Linked DNA regions of Homo sapiens: regions 1, 2, 3, 4, 5 and 7 are each linked to region 6. Evidence: promoter capture Hi-C in 16 types of primary human blood cells and fetal thymus (Javierre and others, 2016). All regions are on one chromosome and are shown on one strand. Each heading gives the region's core, a stretch centred on a gene start or on the middle of the fragment in contact. The rest is flanking DNA. Distances are from core to core; before and after follow the strand shown. Region 1 overlaps LOC105373426 (a long non-coding RNA gene). Region 2 has its middle 32 kb from the start of ODC1-DT. Region 3 overlaps ODC1 (ornithine decarboxylase 1). Region 4 has its middle 67 kb from the start of ODC1-DT. Region 5 has its middle 48 kb from the start of ODC1-DT. Region 6 holds the start of RRM2 (ribonucleotide reductase regulatory subunit M2). Region 7 overlaps NOL10 (nucleolar protein 10).

Region 1 (2,700 bases), core at 100-2,599, 420 kb after region 6:
GCCTGTAATCCCAGCTACTTGGGAGGCTGAGGCAGGAGAATCGCTTGAACCCAGGAGGCAGAGGTTGTAGTGAGCCAAGATGGCGCCACTGCACTCCAGCCTGGGGGAGAGAGTGAGACTCTGTCTCAAAAAAAAAAAAAAAAAAAGGAGGATCTGGCTTCTAGAATGAAACCCCAGAGTACAAAACCAACACCAGTGGCTTAGGGCTACTGAGATTAAGACTGGTGTGGACATCAGAGCAGCTCAGAGATGGAAGGGCTTTGCTCCCCACCATGGTGCACTAGAGGCCGGTGGCGCCTGGCAGACAGATGCAGGGGGAAGTCGCACATAAAACCTGGGTTATGGTACTCGGTACCAGGAACACTCTCCCTGGACCTTAAACCTCAGCGGAAGGATGTGGGCTTTCTGGTGAGTGCTTTGAGAAACCACCATCTGAGCACACAAAGGGCGCTATGATATTCCAAGTTTCCAGAGCCACACAGAGCCACCTACCCGGTGCTGCGTTTCACAGACAGACGCCTGATTGCCCTTTCTGTTTCCCATGACTGTCGTCTTCTGCACGCATCCTTCCCATGTGGGACCTGGCCTGCTCCCAGAGCAGGTGTTTGCCCCACTGAGCGATGCTGCAGAGCCAGGCCTCGAGCCTGCCCGCCAGCCCCGTCGTCGGCTGTTGGGGTGGCATTTTATATTTGGCATCGATATCCCCTGGGACTTGGATAGAGAGTCGCCTCCTGTCTGACTATTCTTTGGCTATTAAAAACAGAGCTGGGGACCAGGCGCAGTGGCTCACCCCTGTAATCCCAACACTTTGAGAGGCCAAGGCGGGTGGATTGCCTGAGGTCAGGAGTTCAAGATCAGCCTGGCCAACATGGGGAAAACCTGTCTCTGCTAAAAATACAAAAAAATTAGCCGGGCATGGTGGCGGGCGCCTGTAATCCCAGTTACTAGGGAGGCTGAGGCAGGAGAATCACTTGAACCTGAGAGGCGGAGGTTGCAGTGAGCCGAGATCACAACATTGCACTCCAGCCTGGGCAACAAGAGCGAAACTCCGTCTCAAAACAAAAACAATCAAAAAAGAGCTGAGCCAGGCTGAGTGGCTCACGCCTGTAAGCAGCATGTTTGGAGCATGCAGGAGAGCTGGAGCGTGGGGGAATGTGGTTTTTCAGAATGGAGGGTGGCATCATTTCTTCATTCCTCAGGATGGAGTTGGGGCTGCTGTCCCGGTGTGCCCAGGATTATCCTGGTTTTGGCAAGGGCCTAGCATTCAATCTGGTGGCTTCAGCACCCACCACACCTCCTAGAACCCAGTAAGCTCTTGACGCATGTCTGTGGGATGCATGGAAGAATGAGTCACCCTACCTCAAGAAATGTTGATGACTCTGTTTCCTAAGAGAGTAAGATTGACAAATATTTATCACTCAGATTGGTACTAGTCCCTGCTTGGCAGGTAAGTCAGAAGGTTACTTCTGCACACAAAATACAGGGGAGACTGGGTGCATTGCCTCACACTTGTAGTCCCAACATTTTGGGAGGCCAAGGTGGGAGGATTGCTTGAGCCCAGGAGTTTCAGACCAGCCTGAGCAACATGGCAAGACTCCCATTTCTACAAAAAAAAAAAAAAAAAAAAAATTAATTACCCAGGTGTGGTAGCATGTGCTATAGTCCCAGCTACTTGGGAGGCTGAGGCAGGAGGATCACTGAGCCCAGGAGGCGGAGGCTACAGTGAGCCATGATCTTACCACTACACTCTAGCCTAGGTGACAGAGTGAGACCCTGTTAAAAAAGAAAAAATACAGAGGTGCTCTTGCCCATATTTGTCTCTTCTTAGGATCATGAAACATTTGCCCAGTTAGGTGGATTCATTATGGATATATAGATTATATTATCAGATTTTAATCAAAGTAACTGTTCTAAAATGGAGAAGTGCTTCAAAAAAAAACATAGCAAAAAAGAAAAAAAGTCCTAAAATTGAAAATAATCCTAACATACAAGCCCCAGTGAACAACAGGTGTGGTTTAACAAAAATTCTGATCTTTGTCTCCGGCTCCTGACACAGAACTCCTCAAACACTTGGACTCTCTTGAGTGACTGAACTGTCTTCTTTACGCTAATGAATGATGGGTCTTGGGGAAATGGGGCACTGAGACAGTTTCCGGGTGGGGCTGGACACCAGCAAGACCAAGCCTCGGTTGGAACTTTCAGCACCCCACCCCCCACCTCCAGGAAGGAGAGAGGGGCTGGAGAGTGAGTTGTCACTAATGGCCAGTGACTTCCTCTGTCTTGCCTGCATAGTGAAGCCTCCGCTGAAAACCCCTAAGTGATGGGGTTCGAGGAGATTCCAAGTTAGTGAACGCATCCGCACGCCAACAGGGCAGCACGTCCCAGCTCCACCGGGACGCAGGCTGCCATGACTTGGCCCCTTCTGGCACTCTCCATGTGCCTCTTCACTGGACGGCTTGTTTGTATCCTGTATAAACTGGAATGGCAAGGGGAACACTTCCCTTAGTTCAGAGAGGCGTTCTGGCGAATTAGCGAACCTGAGGGTTGGGGGTGGGGACTCCTGAATTCGAAGTCAGCTGGGCAGAAGTGTAGGTCGGCTGAGGACCCCATTTGTGGCTGGGATCTGAATGAGGCTGTCTTGTGGAACTGAGCCCTTCAACTGTGGAGTCTGATGCTAACTCCAGGTAGATAGTGTCAGAA
Region 2 (2,700 bases), core at 175-2,674, 360 kb after region 6:
TGGCCGGGGCCATGACAGAGCTTGTAAGCCCAGAGCTGAGATGGGGCCCCAGTGGCCCACATATCTAAGTGGTGCGATGCACGGCACAGAGCAGACTATAGAGGCATCTGCATTATTATTACATTTGTATTATTATTTTGAGACAGGGTTTCATTCTGTCACTCAGGCTGAAGTGCAGTGGTGTGATCATAGCTCACTGAAACCTTGAACTCCTGGGCTCAAACAATACTCCCACCTCAGCCTCCTGAATAGCTGAGACTATAGGTGCATGCTATCATGCCTGGCTAGTTTTCTTTTCTTTTCTTTTCTTTTCTTTTCTCTTCTCTTCTCTTCTTTTTCCCTCCCTCCCTTCCTTCCTTCCTTCCTCTTTCTCTCTCTTTCCTTCCTTCCTTTCTTCCTTCCCTCCCTCCCTCTCTCTTTCTTTCTCTTTCTCCTTCCTTCCTTTCTCTCTCTTTCTCCCTCTTTTCTTCCTTTCTCCGTTTCTTTCTTTTTCTTTCTCTCTCTCTCCTTCCTTTCTTCCTTCCTTCCTTTCTTCCTCTTTCTTTCTCCCTTTCTTTTCTCTCTCTCTCCTTTCTTTCTCTTTCTTTCTCTTTCCTTCCATCTCTTTCTTTCTTTCTCTCTTTCTTTTCTCTCTTTTTCTCTCCTTCCTTCCTTCCTTTCTTCCTTTCTCTCTCTTTCTCTCTTTCTTTCTCTCTCCTTCCTTCCGTCCTTTCTTTATCTCTTTCTCTTTCTTTCTTTCTCTCTTTATCTCTCTTTCTCTTTCTTTTTTTCTCTTTCTCCTTCTTTCCTTCTCTTTCTTTTTCTACCTTTATTTCTTTCTCTCTTCCTCTCTCTTTCTTTCTTTTTCTCCTTCTCTCTTTCTGTCTTTTCTCTCTCTCTCTCTTTCTTTCTTTTTCTCTCTCTCCTTCCTTCCTTCCTTCTCTCTCTCTTTCCCTCCCTCCACCCTCCCTCCCTCTCTCTCTTTCTCCCTTTCTTTCTTTCTCTCTCTCTCTTTCTCTCTTTCTTTCTTTTGTAGAGACAGGGTCTCACTGTGTTGCCCAGCCTAGTCTCCTAGTCTCTAGTAATCCTCCATGCCTGGCTAATTTATTTTCTTTCTGTCCCTTCCTTCTTTTCTTTCCTTCTTTCTTTGGTTTGTTCATTCTTGAGACAGGGTCTCACTATGTTGCCCAGGCTGGTCTCCTGGCCTCTAGTGATTCTCCCACCTTGGCCTCTTGAAGTGCTGGGATCTTCAGTGGGAACCCCCACACCAGGCCTGCATCTTCATTGGTACTGCTGTTATTCAGCACCAGAAAAGATCTGTGCCTCTTTGAGGAGGGACACATCAGAGGCACATGGCCCTTCACTCTCCAGGGGTCACAGGGGAATCTTGACCACCCTGGGCACGGAAGTCAGGTTGTCAATCATTAGCCCAAATAGGAAGAGGGACAAGGGCTCCTGGGCACAACACACTCATCCCATGCAGTCTTCCCCAGCTCACTGAAGACCTGTGACCTGTGGCCTGAGTTGTTGACTTGCCTGGCCCTTATTGATCTGATGCTTTTGTGCACAGGTGAGCTCCTCCCTTTCCTTCCAGCCCCCCTGTTGGAGGATGAGAGACCACATAGACGCAGACCCCAAACAGGTGAGTGACGCCAAGCCTAGAGCAGCCAAGTTCAGCTCAGCCCAGAAGGAAGATGCCACTGAGCCCAGCTCACATCACTAACACACAGAATCATGAGTGAACATGACAACTGTCGGAAGCCACTGAGTTTTGGGAGTATTTGTAACCTACCAATAGATAACTGGGGCACAGGGCAAGCTCATAGGAACAAAGCCCAGTCATGGAACTGAAGCTGGGGGCTGGGGAGCTGGCGGGGTTACGGAGCCATTCTCTTTGTCTCTCTCCGGGGATGCATGGTGGCTGTCAACAGCACCACTGCCCCTTCTCTTAGGCCACTCTCAGCAATCTTGCTGCCTCAGCCCTAACTCCACGTGGCCATTCAGCGCAAGAGCTCACCATTACCAAATGACTGGCCCTTGGGTCTCCTTGACTGACACGCACCCTGAACCCAGTTGGCCCAGCTCAGCTGCCGTGATGAGCTACCTGATGCCGGTGGGCACTTTGGGCAGGAGGCATTATGGGGAAGCTCTCCAGGAAAGGGCTTGTGCCAGGGCAGGTAGTGGAACACGGTATTCCATCACTCATATGAGGGAGGATGTAAGGATAGGAAACCTGAAGTGCCTTTCTTATACACTCAACACCACTCTTCTGACACCAGATGTGTGAGTTTTTTTTTTCCCACACACCAAGCAATTCTTCAACAGACCCCAACTGGGTTTCTATAATGCCACTCAGTTCTGACACTGTCGCCTGGAGGTAGCGTCGGATCCCACAGGCGAAGGGCTCCGTCCCACAAGGCTGTCCCCTCTTCAGACGCCAATCACAAGCCCTGGTGTATGACTCGTGTTCCTGACTGACTGGCTGTACATTGGGGGTTCCACAGTCCCCCTCCTCAGGTTTGACTAATTTGCTAGGATGGCTCACAGATCTCAGGGAAATGCTTACATTTACTGATTTATTATAAAGGGTGTCACAGGTGATACAGGTGAGCAGCCAGAGGGAAAGGATGCGTGACACACGCCTGTGGGAAGAGGTGTGGAGCTTCCATGCCCTCTGTGGGCACACGCCCCGCCCTCTAACGCCCCCCATGTGTTCAGCAA
Region 3 (2,700 bases), core at 150-2,649, 320 kb after region 6:
GTAAGCGCCCATGTTTTCAAAGAGCATCCAATCACCCACATGCATTTCAGGCAGGTCACAGCGCTCAACAATCCGATCGAGGCCATCACATGTTGGTCCCCATATGCTGGATGAATAATACTTCTCATCTGGTTTAGGTCTCTATATAAAGAGACGGAGAGAGGAAGTACTACTTAATTACACGTGTTGTGACCAGTCCTCTTAATTGTTTTATACAGTATGCTCAGAAATTACCTTTTGCAGAAGGGGCTTTACATGTGCGTGGTCATAGAGTATGCAATTAAATGATCCATAGACGCCATCATTCACATAATACATAAAGGTCTGCTCACTCGACTCATCTTCGTCTAGAAAGGCAGATCAACAATCTTAATGACTTTTTGCATCAGCTTTCAGTTATACATGAAGTGATTCGTCCTTTATACATACCATCAGAGCCCGTCTGTTCCTTTAATACAATTTTCTTGGCAATGATATTAACTGCAAGCGTGAAAGCTGATGCAACATAGTATCTGCCGGGCTCAGCTATGATTCTCACTCCAGAGTCTGACGGAAAGTATTTGTCCAACGCTGGGTTGATTACGCCGGTGATCTAAGAGAGTGAAACAGAAAAGAAAGAGCAGCCTTCATTGTGGGAAATTCACATGGGGGAGTAACATCACAGGGCCTTGTGACATGACATCATGAGACCAGGCATCAACAGACAGGTTTATCATTAAAGTAACAAAAGCAAAAAAACATCAACATCTCCCTGAAAACCAGGCTACATATCCCAGGTGGCTCGTTTTCATTCCCCTCCAGGCACCCTATCTCCTTTAGGATGTTATGGGTATGATTTTTATCAAAGAACAGTACGCAACTAACTACTACCTAGGAAGGCATCAAGATGTCAAAACATTTTAACAAATACATGCCAACAGGATAAAAATCCTATTCTGCCTACGTCATGATTTTAACAAACCATGTGGATATATTTTATAAATTCAAGCACCAATATAATGGCTTAACTTCCTAAGTGACTAAACATTTCAAGTATTTTAAGGAGAGGAAGCATAGGTCTAGCAAAGCACATTTGGGGTGATGATGTGCTACAGTCAGCATATTCTCTAGGAAGCCCACAGCAACATGCTTTTTCTTTTTTTTTTTTGAGACAGGGTCTCACTCTGTAGCCCAGGCTGAGTGCAGTGGCATGATCATGGCTCACTGCAGCCTCAACCTCCTGGGCTCAAGTGATCCTCCCACCTCAGCCTTCCAAGTAGCTGGGATTACAGGTGCCCGCCACCACACCAGGCTAATTTTAAAATTTTTTTTGTAGAGATGGGGTCTCACTGTGTTGCCCAGGCTGGTCTCAAACTCCTGGGCTCAAGTGATCCTACCACCTTGGCCTCCCCAAGTGCTGGATTACAGGTGTGAGCCATGATTTCCAATGTAACCAATTATCCAAGACTTCTGGGAAAGCTGATTCACACTTTAGAAAACCAAATGGTATCAAGTGTAATGTCAGACAGCACAAAGAAATCACTCAAAATATCACACCAAGACACTTCAGCCCATTGTGGTATTAGTTAAGACACTTAAATTTTGAAATATTCCAAAAAGGAATTTATTAGAACGGCTACTGAGTATTACAGTTTTGTTCTAAATTACCTCTTCAAATTTAAGTTTCACATCCTCAGATCCAGGAAAGCCACCGCCAATATCAAGCAGATACATGCTGAAACCAACCTCAGCCTAGAATCAAGAAAATAAGTCAGCCAGATCCACAGCTAATAACAAAAATGTATGCAGCAGATAGGCTGAAACCCATGTAATACAGAACCAACTGCCATAAAAAGTTAACTCTAGAATTAAGACTAGTTATTGTCAGTTGTGTCCCGCCCTTCCCTAACAGGGTCACGTATACTCACCCCCATGTCAAAAACACAGCGGGCATCAGAGATTGCCTGCACGAAGGTCTCAGGATCGGTACAGCCGCTTCCTACATGGAAGCTGGGGTAAAATAAAGAGACGAGACACTGTGTCTTAGTATTTCTTAAAATAATAGCAAACACTAGGAGAAAGCCTGTAAAACTCAAACTGTTCAATGTCTTGACCTCTAGCTATCCCACCAAAATCTCACCTGACACCAACAACATCGATATTTAGCTCTTTCGCCCGTTCCAAAAGGAGCCTGCTGGTTCTGAGCGTGGCACCGAATTTCACACTGAGACGACAGACTGCTTTGGAATCATCAGTGGCAATCCGCAAAACCAACCTACAAGCAAGGAAAGTGCAGCAAATGTCTCATGATAGATGTTCACTTATAGCCACAATTAAAATAAAAACAATCCTGTTCTAAATACTGTCGCTGATATATTCTGTAGTTTGAGTCCCAGGCTTCATGACTCAATGGGGGTTTCAACTACTTTCTACTAAAGTATAGAAATATAATAATCAGAAATTTAAGTTTGTTTGATAAGAATCCACATATCTTATGCTCCCGATCTTGCCCTCAGATGGGGGAATAACTCACTTTGCTTTGGGATGTGCTCTGGCAACTTTCATCAACTCAACTTCACTATCAAAAGTCATCATCTGGACTCCATTATTAGCAGCATACTTAATTTGAGATACTTGTTTACAAGGATTTGCATAGATAATCCTCTCTGGAGGCACCCCCAGACTCTGCACCAACTGTATTTCAGTCTGAAAAAGAAGAGT
Region 4 (2,700 bases), core at 156-2,655, 390 kb after region 6:
AGACTAAGTTACAAGGTAGGGTGGGAAAAAACAATGGATTTATGCCAGACTTTTTGAAAAAAATCTCACCTTGGAGGAATGGGTTTTCCATCATTTGTCCATCCCTCCTATGTTATATATAATAAACAGAAGGAGGTTAAAAATGCGCTGGTACCTCCACCATCATTCTGTTTATGGTACCAACAGACCTAGATCAGGCCAGAAGGAGTGGGCCTCACAGAGCCCATTATTGCACTTATACTTGCTTTGCTCATCCCCTGCAAGAGCTCAGAGCTCCATGTTCCAGGATTGGATGAGTAATATCAGCCCCTTGGACACACCATTGGGTCACCCTGCCAGTAAGAGACAGATTTGTGATAGCCACTCAGTTCGAACATTTTTTTCACTTTTATTTTTATTTTTTGTCCTTGGCATTTGTTGAGCTTCTTTAATGTATGGATTGACATCTTTTGGTTCATTCCAAAAAATTATCAGACATTATCTCTTTAAATAATAATTTTGCCCCCATCTCCCTTGCTTCTCCTTCTGGAATACCCCCTAAATGTATTTAGACCTTCTCACTCTATCCTCCTCTTTTTCATGATTTTCATCTTTCTGTTGTTCTGTGCTATCATTTGGATAATTTTTTCTGACCCATCTTCCAGTTCACTAATTCTCTCTTTGCCTATATCTAATTTCCTATTAAATCCACCTATTAAATTTAAAGTTTCAGTTATTATATTTTTCATTTTTATAAGAAAGATCTATTTGATTTTCGAAAAACCTGCCAAATCAGTTTTTTCATAGTTCTCTGTTTCCTGCAAATATCTTTAAGCTTGTATTGTTTTTTCAACATAACAATTGTATAATTTCTTTCCTATTATTTCATTATATGAAATATTTGGGAGTAGTTTAGCTGTTTGTTTTTTCTGCTTATTCATGCTCATGTTGCCTTATTTCCTTGTGTGCTTCCTTATTTTTCACTAAGTGCTGCTTGCTTTCTTTTCTTTTTTCTTTTTTTTGAGATGGAGTCTCACTCTATCACCAGGCTGAAGTGCAGTGGCGCAATCTTGACTCACTGAAACCTCCGCCTCCTGGGTTCAAGCGATTCTCCTGCCTCAGCCTCCCGAGTAGCTGAAACTACGGGCATGCTCCACTACACCCAGCTAATTTTTGTATTTTTAGTAGAGACGGGGGCTTCACCATGTTGGCCAGGATGGTCTCAATCTCTTGACCTCGTGATCCACCCGCCTCGGCCTCCCGAAATGCTAGGATTACAGGCATAAGCCACCATGGCCAGCCTGCTTACTTTCTTGAGATATTACTTGATGATAATTCTTTGAGATCTCGGATGAATGTGACATCTGCCTGAAAGAATTTGCACTTGCATCTGCCATGCACCTAGGGACACTTCCACTCCAAGATCACCTTCATCTGAATTTGTTCCTGGAAAATTTCTGGGCCATTCAGGGGGTGTGAATTTGGGTACCAGTCTGCACAAGGGTCAGTGTTTGGATACAGCTTCACAGAGATGAGCTTTTCTCCCGCTCTCCTCAGTGCCAAGAAACATTTCCTTGTTATTTCTAAAGGGGGGTTTGAGGGAGAGAATGCAAAAATTTACTTCGGGTTCATGCTAATCCTGGGTGTGTAACCCTTTAGAGTTCTAGCATAATGGGCTAAAGATCTTCTGGTTGGTTCTCAGCCTTACATGGATTCTGGGATTGGGATTCTGATTCTCGGCTTGAAATTCTGACAGGTGAATTTTCTTCTAAGCACAGTGATTAATCTATTGGCAGTGCACTAAATCTTGGAAAATTGTGGAAGGAGACAAGTCTCCTTGAAATGAAACATGACATTCTTCTTGCTACATCAGATATGGTTGGTTCTTGCTCAGGTTAAACAACCTGAAGCCATAAAAACTACAAAACCAACTTTCGAGAATTTTAGCGGTTTTAAATGTACAGGATGAATCAGTTAGGAATGCTTTCCACTACAAGTAGTAGCAATGTGACAAATAGAAGCTTATTTTTCTTACATAACAAGAAGTCTAAAGATAGACAGTTGGTGGTATTGGTTCACCTGCTCAGGAATGCCCTAGCGGGCAGGGGAGGGTCAAAGCTCTTTGCATGTTTCTTATCTGGGATTCTAACGCTTCCTCATGCTTATCGCCTCATAGTTACATAATGGCCACCATAATGTTAGGCATTATGTCCATGTTTAAGACAGGAAAAAGAGGAAAGAGCACCAGTCACATCTGTCCCTTTTATAGGGAGGCCAATGGTTCCCCAAAGGCCTCCCAGCAGACCCCTCACAATGTATCTCATTGTCCAAGACTCAGTCACATGCCTGTTGCCGGCTGTGGGAAGGCTTGAGGAACAGGTGGCAAAATGGAATCAGACTGTCACGGTCAGTTCAGACCATTCGCGGTGCTCCCCTTGGACACTGGACACAGTCAGGAGCATGCTGGAAAGGCAGAGGGGAGACTGGCTGTGGAAAGCAACCCAGAGCCATGAGCTTGGAGCTTGCTGTGCCCACTGCCCACTTTCCAGCAAAGCAGCACAAAGTCAACATACAGAAAAAGCCTGCCTTGTTGGGAGCCTCCAGAAAGTGGGCTTCAAAGTGGAAGGACAGGTTTCCTGACAGAACACACACCACACGTGCACACACACACCACACACATATACACCACACACCACACACAGGACACACACATACACCACA
Region 5 (2,700 bases), core at 48-2,547, 370 kb after region 6:
GCCTCCCAGGTTCAAGCAATTCTCCTGCCTCAGCCTCCTGAGCAGCTGGGATTACAGGCACCTGCCACCACGCCCAGCTAATTTTTGTATTTTTTTTTAGTAGAAACAGGGTTTCACCGTGTTGGCCAGGCCGGTCAAACTCCTGACCTCAGGCAATCCACCTGCCTCGGCCTCCCAAAGTGCTGGGATTATAGGCGTGAGCCACCGCGCCCGACAAAATGAACTTACTAAAGCACGAGTCTGACCGCAAGCCATTCTGTCACCTGTTTGAGCCTCCTGGGGCTCTTTCTCAGCCCCCAAGTGAATGCCTAGCTACATAGGCTGGCATTACTACCACCTGCTACCTGCCACCTGCCACCCACCCACCTTTGTCATCTGCCACCTCTGGCGTCACACGGCACCCTGAGTCCAGAACTTCTCAGGCCGTGTGCAAGTGCCAGGGGGCTCCACTCTGAAATGTCCCTCCTGCCTCTATGCTTGCCTGCCCTGACCTTGGCTTCAGACCATGCAGACACCCTCCCTCTCGGAAGACCCCTCTTTTGAGCTTATCTCCAAAAGAGATGTTATGCATCCCCCTCACATTGAACCGGAAGCATTGTGCAGGGCTGGGCCCCCCCTTGCCCTCAGTTTTGATTTCCCAGCCTGGCAGAGAATAAGTCCTCATTAAGATTGCTGTGAAACCTGCCCCACTTTGGCCAGTGAGTGAGGGCATGTCCAGAGTCAATCGGTCTGCCTCGCAGACACCATGATTTTATTTAACTGTTTTGTTATGGAAATGTCAAACGTACACAACGTAAACAGTAAACACAAACAAAGAGCAAATAGTATAATGAACCCGCATGCTTCCCACCCAGCTTTAATAACCTTCACGCTTTGCCACTTTTGTTTCATCTTTCCCACCAGTAATCCCCCAACCGGTGATCCTCAACTCATTTAGTATGTTTATACTTCAAAGATTATGCTGTTTCTTTCTCTTCTCCATGCTGCCATGTATCATTGCAAAGAGCATTGGCAGTGGCTTTGACCACTAGTAAATGAAAAGAACAGGGCTGGGTGTGGTAGCTCACACCTGTAATCCCAGCACTTTGGGAGGCTGAGGCAGGAGGATCACTTGAACCCGGGAGTTCGAGATCAGCTAGGACAATGTAGTGAGACCCTGTCTCTACTAAATAAGAAAGAAATAAATAAAAACATAGAACAGTCCAACATTACGAAAGCGATTGCACTATTTTATTATTAATTTCTTATTCTGCATCAAGCATGTGGCACTGAGGGCTTCATAAGCATTATCTTAAGACACTGCCAGAAGTAGGTGTCATTATTATTCCCATTTTACAGCAGCTAAAACTGAGGCTCAGACACTAGGAAATGTGTCCAGAGTCTCTGCTAGTAGGTGGCAGAGCTGTTTAACTGCACGGCCCGCAGGTGTCATTTAACCAGTGACGGTCTGAGGCTGATCTTGGGCACCTGGCGCTGGTCGTAGGAGCCCGTGGATGCCGAGCACCCTGGGCCACCTCACTTTGGGAGACGGTGAGGCTGTGCACACCACATTCCCTGCAATGATCCTGCTAAGAACAGGAGCCCAAGGTGCCAGCCGGCCACGGCAAGACAGGGCCCGCCAGCTGTTTGGAAGAGGCGGCAACAATGAGTCACCGCGCACACGGGCCGTGCCGGGGCCGGGCCGGGGCGTTGTCTGGGTGGGTGACAGGCAGCCGGGTGTGTGGGCTGTGATGTAACAGGCCTGCTGCAGCTGCTGGGTGGCAGGCGACTCACTCTCCTCCTCTGTCATGGCTTTGAATCGCCTCTGCTGCGGGAGGGGCATGGAGACAGCACAGCTCCTCCCCCAGCCCACGGCCAAGACAGCCGGCCAGGTCCAGAGGCCCACCAGCCACTCCTCGACCTCCACGCGCAGTCACCTGCCCTTCATCTTCACCTTGGACCTAGGGGGGACGAGTGGGGGGCGCGTGTACTGCAGTGGATGCTCCTGGCATAGAGCTTGGTGTAGAGAGAGAAGGAAATTCAAGACAGACCCAGGTCCCCAGTGCCTGAGGAAGGGCAAATGCAGCAGGAGTTGCTTCTTTTGACCTAAGAAGGAGAAGGAGGTAAAATGAGAAAGTGATCCTTTGTTGAGTACCTATGGGGTCGCAGGTGCAGTGTTAAGTCTCATGACAGCCCAGTAAGATGGGCATCATTCATTCATTCATCCATTCATTCAAATATTTCTAAGCACTTCTGGCCAGGCATGGTGGCTCATGAGTGTAATCCCAGCACTTTGGGAGGCTGAGGTGGGAGAATCACTTGAGGTCAGGAGTTCGGGACCAGCCTGGCCAACATGGTGAAACCTCATCTCTACCAAACATACAAAACTTAACCGGGCGTGGTGGCACATGCTTGTAATCCCAGCTATTCAGGAGGCTGAGGCAGGAGAATCACTTGAATTCCGGAAGCAGAGGTTGCAGTGAGCCGAGATCTTGCCACTGTACTCCAGCCTGGGCAACCAAGAGAGACTCCATCTCAAAACAAGAAAAACAAACAAAAAAACCCCAAATATTTCTGAGCACTTCCTTGGTCCCTCCACTGTTATTATCCTTGTTTTACAGGTAAGGAAACTGAGGCTCAAACAGACCATTTGACTCCCCCAAGCAAGGCTGGATCTAGCTCTTACAGTTGCTTTGTGTGAATTTGAAGGCACGCCTCTGG
Region 6 (2,700 bases), core at 40-2,539:
CAGGGCCTGGCAAATCAGAAAGCCACATAGAAAATTAAATGAAAGCTATTGCTAAGTTCCAGTCTCTACACCAGTGGAGTTTTCAAACTCCTCTTCAGCATATTTGACGCCCAATGAGTAGTACATTAATTCCTAGTCCTAAAATCATTCTGTGAACTTTCTCCCAGGAATTTTTGCTCAGTTTGCAATTAAAACAACTTTTTTTCTTCTCTTTTTAATGGCAGAGGCGGGGTCTCACTATGTTGCCCAGGATGGTCTCCAGCTCCTGGCCTCAAACAATCCTCCTGCCTTGGCCTCCCAAAGTGCTGGGATTACAGGCGTGAGCCACCGCGCCCAGCCACAGTTTGCAATTCTTAAGGCAAGGGTGACAATAGGGGTCAGGGGTCTGACAGGAGACAGGATTTCTGTGGAAAACTGCACCAAGGGCCTTCTCGCCATGTCCCGTAGTTTGAAGGTTTACAAAGGACTGCACATTTTACATGAGTCATCTCAACGAACGCTCTCCTCACCGCATTAACAGTCCACGCGGTTACGAGTCCCATTTTACTCACGGGGACACCGAATCTGTAAGAAGCCTGGTCGCTTGTCCCAGCAAAACGAGCCACGGGGCTCAGCGGCCCTAACTTTTAGGCTGTAGGGTCCTCGCCGACCACCCCGCCAAAATGTCAGGCCTCGGGGCCCTTGCACCCCCACCGCAGGGACACGGATCGAAAGGGTCGCAGCAACGCCTCCCCCGCACCCAGGAGCGTTTTCCAGGCCTTTGCACCAACCTCGTTGGCTAAGCCCCCTGCCCGGCGGCGGCCCGGCTGGGAGGAGGTGCTTTCGGGAGGCGGGGCCGCGGCCCGGGGATCCTCTCGCGCCCGCGGGCTCCAATCGCTGCTCCTCACGCAATCCTAAACGGTTCCCGGGCGAACCGGGGCCCGCGCGCGCCAAGGCCGCCGAGACCCTCAGGGGCTGCGGCCCTGGTCCCGCGGGACCTGTGGGGGCCTGGGCGGCGGCGCCCCCGACCCAGCCAGCGGACGGGCCGGGGGGGGAACCGGGAGGTCCCGGGGGGCGTCCACGGGGGTGTCCCCGGGGGTCTCCGGAAGGCGCCGGCGGAGGCTCCCGCGCTGCGCTTGAAAATCGCGCGCGGCCCCGCGGCCAGCCTGGGTAGGGGCAAGGCGCAGCCAATGGGAAGGGTCGGAGGCATGGCACAGCCAATGGGAAGGGCCGGGGCACCAAAGCCAATGGGAAGGGCCGGGAGCGCGCGGCGCGGGAGATTTAAAGGCTGCTGGAGTGAGGGGTCGCCCGTGCACCCTGTCCCAGCCGTCCTGTCCTGGCTGCTCGCTCTGCTTCGCTGCGCCTCCACTATGCTCTCCCTCCGTGTCCCGCTCGCGCCCATCACGGACCCGCAGCAGCTGCAGCTCTCGCCGCTGAAGGGGCTCAGCTTGGTCGACAAGGAGAACACGGTGAGCCCGCGGGGAGGGCGCTGCGGGCAGGGGAGGGAGGCAGGGAAAGCGAAGCCGCTCCTCACTCACACGCGTCTCCCCGCAGCCGCCGGCCCTGAGCGGGACCCGCGTCCTGGCCAGCAAGACCGCGAGGAGGATCTTCCAGGAGCCCACGGAGCCGGTGAGTGGCGGGCGTGGGGCAGAGGGGCCAGGGACGGCCTTGGGCGTCTTGGCGCCAAAGCCGCATTGTTTCCTCAGCTGTTCACACTCCCGCCCCGGCTCCTTTCCCGCCTAGGCGGCCCCTCCCCAGGGCTGCCTCCCGCGCCCCTCGGCCCATTTCCCGGTTCGGGCGTGCGCTCCTCTGCTGCGACCCACGGAGTGCGACGGGACAGCCACGTTTTCACATCGGGCCCCGTGAAATTGCCGCCAATGGAAAGGACTTGGTCCAGAAAAACGTTAGTTTCATATGGTTCGCCCGGTACTTAAATGTTTTATTTTCTCCCCCAACAGAAAACTAAAGCAGCTGCCCCCGGCGTGGAGGATGAGCCGCTGCTGAGAGAAAACCCCCGCCGCTTTGTCATCTTCCCCATCGAGTACCATGATATCTGGCAGATGTATAAGAAGGCAGAGGCTTCCTTTTGGACCGCCGAGGAGGTAATCGGAGGACCCCAGAAGACCCCTGCAGGGGTGACCGTCACGCCTCAGACATAAATGCACTTGGAGGTTCCCGTTGGCAAGGGGGGCTAACTGTGGGGCATAGTAAGTGGTGCCAGCATACTTAAAGTTTGAGTGCTCAGTGTGAGTCCTGTAGGCTTTACTCTCTTCCTTTTATGCTAAAATTGTGACTTCCGAACCTCAGGTGGACCTCTCCAAGGACATTCAGCACTGGGAATCCCTGAAACCCGAGGAGAGATATTTTATATCCCATGTTCTGGCTTTCTTTGCAGCAAGCGATGGCATAGTAAATGAAAACTTGGTGAGTTTCCAAAACATCTTTCATTCATTTGACGTTGACGATCTGAGGTCGAACTAGTTCGCTTTCCTCGTCTTGTATGTTTTTCCATGCTGAGTGCATCTGTGTGTGTAAGCTGGGTTTTATATTACATGGCATTTCCTGTTTTGTAACACTTTGCAGTTCTTTCTTATGGTATTTTCCCGACTCTAGAGAAGCTGAGACAATATTAAGTGGTAGCAATGTGATGACTCTTTGTGGCCACCACATCTGCCCCCTCTTTTTTTTTTTTTTTTTGAGACAGAGTCTCACTCTGGCCCA
Region 7 (2,700 bases), core at 74-2,573, 490 kb after region 6:
AAAAGAAAATTTTCTTTTCCAGCTTTTCTTCCATTATTGTTGGAAAGGCCTCACTAGGAGCAGCAGCATGTATTTTCAAATTCTGACAGCTGAGGCTTAATAAATGATCATAAACCCAAGAGAACACTGGGTGAGCCAGAGGGAGTGGCCATGACCTTAAGCATGTAATTGCATTTGCAGCATAATGAGCTGCCTAATTGCATATCCAAGTTTACATGCATTTGTGTGAGTAATTATGAGTCATTTAAATGTACTCTACTTGTAGTGTTTTGTTCTTAAAAATCAGATTAGCAAAGAAGCAATTTAATTTCAACATTTTAAAAGATTTATTTTTAAAAAAGAAAAACTATTACCTGCCATGACTTAATATTTGAAAAGATAATTTAGGGACTGAAATGAAATAACAAGAAAAATAAGGCCAAGTTAAAAAAAAATTGTTAAGATTCCTTAAGCCACTATCTCACTAATAGCCCATCAAGCAATAGTCAATTTTTGTGACACTATGAGTAGAGATACACATGACAGAGTGCCTTCAGTCAAGGGCTAGCAGAGACAGGACGCCCCAAGCAAACATTTAAACACCAAATTAAAACTGATGTTAAGAAACACAGAGAGCTTTTGGTTAATAGTGGTACCCCCATCGCTGTCAAGCCTTTTTAAAATGACAGTAAATAACTTTTAAAAGGTATTAACCTTTAAGGACAAAAAGAACTGAAGAAGAAGATGCAGTAATTTAAGAAACTTAACCGGGTAAACATGAGAGCTTACAGAGGTGAACAGCAAAGAGAAAAGATTCCTCTCTCAGAATCCTTGGGACAAGAACTTCAAGGCTCTAAGCATGGGGGACGACAGGATGAGGCACAGGCCCGAATAAAGGGGGAACAATGGAGCTGATGAACACCCAAATCCCCACCATGCCTAAAGAGACCAGAAGATAATTCTCTGGAGGAGGGGAACCAAAGCTGCCCTATGTGCGGGGTGGGTGGGGAGTATGCCACCAGGCACAGGTGACTTGAGCTGTGGGGCTAAAGTCAGGACAATTAATGGCAGTCTAGACATCAAACTGTGGGACCCTCGCCTCCTTTTCCCAGCCCCTGGAATGCCAAAGTCAAGCCTATGCTGCTGTGCGTCCACTCTACCAGCCCAAACCCCTAACACCTCAGAACAAAACTGGGGGATTCTTCTCTGGAGTAAATGAAAGGTCCCAGAAGACAGACTTTAAGATATTGATATCTGGGTAGAGTCATTAGCTGAAGGGTCCACATGAAAACTACCAGTGGACAACACCACCCTGCATTTTTTTTTTTTTTTTTTTTTTTTTTTTTGAGGCAGAGTCTTGCTCTGTCACCCAGGTTGGAGTGCAGTGGTGCGATCTCGGCTCACTGCAACCTCTGCCTCCTGGATTCTTGTGCCTCAGCCTGCCAAGTAGCTGGGATTACAGGCGTGTGCCACTACGCCTGGCTAATTTTTGTATTTTTAGTAGAGACGGGGTTTCACCATGTTGGCCAGGCTATTCTCAAATTCCTGGCCTCAGGTGATCCGCCCGCCTTGGCCTCCCAAAGTGCTGGGAGTACAGGCATGAGCCACCGTGTCTGGCCCCAGTTGGCATTTTAGCACCTCATTCTTCATTTTTTTTTGTTTTTTTGAAACAGGGTCTCACTTTATCACCCAGACTAGAGTGCAGTGGTGCGATCTCAGCTCACCGCCACCTCAACCTCCCAGGTTCAAGCAATCCTCCCACCTCAGCCCTTCAAGTAGCTGGGACTACAGGTGTGTGCCACCATGCCCAGCTAATTTTTGTATCTTTTGTAGAGATGTAGTTTCGCCATGTTGCCCAGGCTGGTCTTGAACTCCTGAGCTATAGTGATCCACTGGCCTCGGCCTCCCAAAGTGCTGGGATTACAGGAGTGAGACACCACGTCTGGCCCTCATTCTTAAATAAGAACAGGTTGCCTAAGCTCCCTCCCCATTCACTTATTCAACAAAGAGTTACCTCCCCATTCACTTATTCAACAAAGAGTTACCTCCCCATTCACTTATTCAACAAAGAGGCAGGCACTTTCCCTTCTCTCTAGATACTCAGTGACAAAACACAGAACAATCCCCACCCTCAAGGAGCTTACCTTCCAGAAAGGGGAAACTACAAACAAGGGAGAGGCAGTGGAGAGTATGACAGACAGAGACTGGTGCTGTGGAAACTGAAGGAGAGAAGGCAATGAAGAATAGAGGGGAAGGGGAGATGATGGACAGGGACCCAAGGGGCAGGAGGGAGTGACCCTCAAGACTACCTGACAACTACAAAGGCCTAGAGGTTGGAATTGCTTGGCATGTTTGTGGATCAGTAAAAAGACCAGCCCAGTGTGGCTTGAATAGAGAGAGCAATGGTGAGCAGGGGCATTCATGAGGATCACTCTGGCAGAGGCTGGGCGACTGACTGGTTCCGGGCATTGAAGGAAATCTCTGTTTATTCATTAGCTGACAGTTCGGCAACGAGCAGAGACTTCAGTGGTCACACGTTAGAAAGAAATCAGATTTTATAGAATTAGTCCAGGACAGTCACTAAACAAACAACCACAAACCCTGGGGACCTGGGGGAGGGACTGAGTTCCATAATTCCTAAATTATGTTACTTAAAGCATCCAGCTTCCAACAAAAAAATTACAGGACACACAAAGAAACAAGAAAAGCAGGGTCCATATG

What was found. Contacts are between HindIII fragments. The CHiCAGO score rates a contact against its expected background, and 5 or more counts as called.
Region 1: a fragment that was not itself captured here is called in contact with the fragment with the promoter of RRM2 in region 6 in 2 of 17 cell types (total CD8 T cells and naive CD8 T cells); the score reaches 6.5 in total CD8 T cells.
Region 2: a contact is called between a fragment that was not itself captured here and the fragment with the promoter of RRM2 in region 6, in 1 of 17 cell types (fetal thymus). The highest score is 7.2, in fetal thymus.
Region 3: a contact is called between a fragment that was not itself captured here and the fragment with the promoter of RRM2 in region 6, in 17 of 17 cell types (naive B cells, total B cells, non-activated CD4 T cells and 14 more). The highest score is 34.2, in naive B cells.
Region 4: a fragment that was not itself captured here is called in contact with the fragment with the promoter of RRM2 in region 6 in 3 of 17 cell types (naive B cells, naive CD8 T cells and total B cells); the score reaches 5.7 in naive B cells.
Region 5: a fragment that was not itself captured here is called in contact with the fragment with the promoter of RRM2 in region 6 in 1 of 17 cell types (naive CD8 T cells); the score reaches 6.0 in naive CD8 T cells.
Region 7: a fragment that was not itself captured here is called in contact with the fragment with the promoter of RRM2 in region 6 in 7 of 17 cell types (endothelial precursors, naive B cells, total CD8 T cells and 4 more); the score reaches 8.9 in endothelial precursors.

Annotation. Positions count from the first base shown.
Region 1 is chr2:10,537,352-10,540,051 of GRCh38, forward strand. All of the region lies in intron 2 of LOC105373426 (a long non-coding RNA gene), which reads right to left. Among named protein-coding and RNA genes, the nearest start is that of ODC1-DT, 89 kb to the left of the region's middle. RefSeq lists an enhancer at 2,350-2,700. The HindIII fragment of the contact is 3,470 bases long and covers 1-2,700 here.
Region 2 is chr2:10,479,949-10,482,648 of GRCh38, forward strand. No RefSeq gene overlaps it. Among named protein-coding and RNA genes, the nearest start is that of ODC1-DT, 32 kb to the left of the region's middle. The HindIII fragment of the contact is 7,342 bases long and covers 1-2,700 here.
Region 3 is chr2:10,441,583-10,444,282 of GRCh38, forward strand. It overlaps ODC1 (ornithine decarboxylase 1), which reads right to left. Exons shown (of 12, transcript NM_002539.3): 5 at 2,513-2,685; 6 at 2,120-2,254; 7 at 1,908-1,989; 8 at 1,648-1,731; 9 at 430-592; 10 at 235-347; 11 at 1-141. Among named protein-coding and RNA genes, the nearest start is that of SNORA80B, 3.9 kb to the right of the region's middle. The HindIII fragment of the contact is 5,104 bases long and covers 1-2,700 here.
Region 4 is chr2:10,515,467-10,518,166 of GRCh38, forward strand. No RefSeq gene overlaps it. Among named protein-coding and RNA genes, the nearest start is that of ODC1-DT, 67 kb to the left of the region's middle. The HindIII fragment of the contact is 1,186 bases long and covers 813-1,998 here.
Region 5 is chr2:10,496,351-10,499,050 of GRCh38, forward strand. No RefSeq gene overlaps it. Among named protein-coding and RNA genes, the nearest start is that of ODC1-DT, 48 kb to the left of the region's middle. RefSeq lists an enhancer at 1,203-1,735. The HindIII fragment of the contact is 4,692 bases long and covers 1-2,700 here.
Region 6 is chr2:10,121,450-10,124,149 of GRCh38, forward strand. It overlaps RRM2 (ribonucleotide reductase regulatory subunit M2), which reads left to right and starts at 1,290. Exons shown (of 10, transcript NM_001034.4): 1 at 1,290-1,448; 2 at 1,534-1,608; 3 at 1,938-2,081; 4 at 2,287-2,403. The coding sequence starts at 1,350. RefSeq lists enhancers at 12-567, 325-394, 415-524 and silencers at 745-1,344, 751-1,251. The HindIII fragment of the contact is 3,317 bases long and covers 1-2,700 here.
Region 7 is chr2:10,614,922-10,617,621 of GRCh38, forward strand. The region is part of intron 13 of NOL10 (nucleolar protein 10); the gene reads right to left. Among named protein-coding and RNA genes, the nearest start is that of NOL10, 74 kb to the right of the region's middle. The HindIII fragment of the contact is 5,417 bases long and covers 1-2,700 here.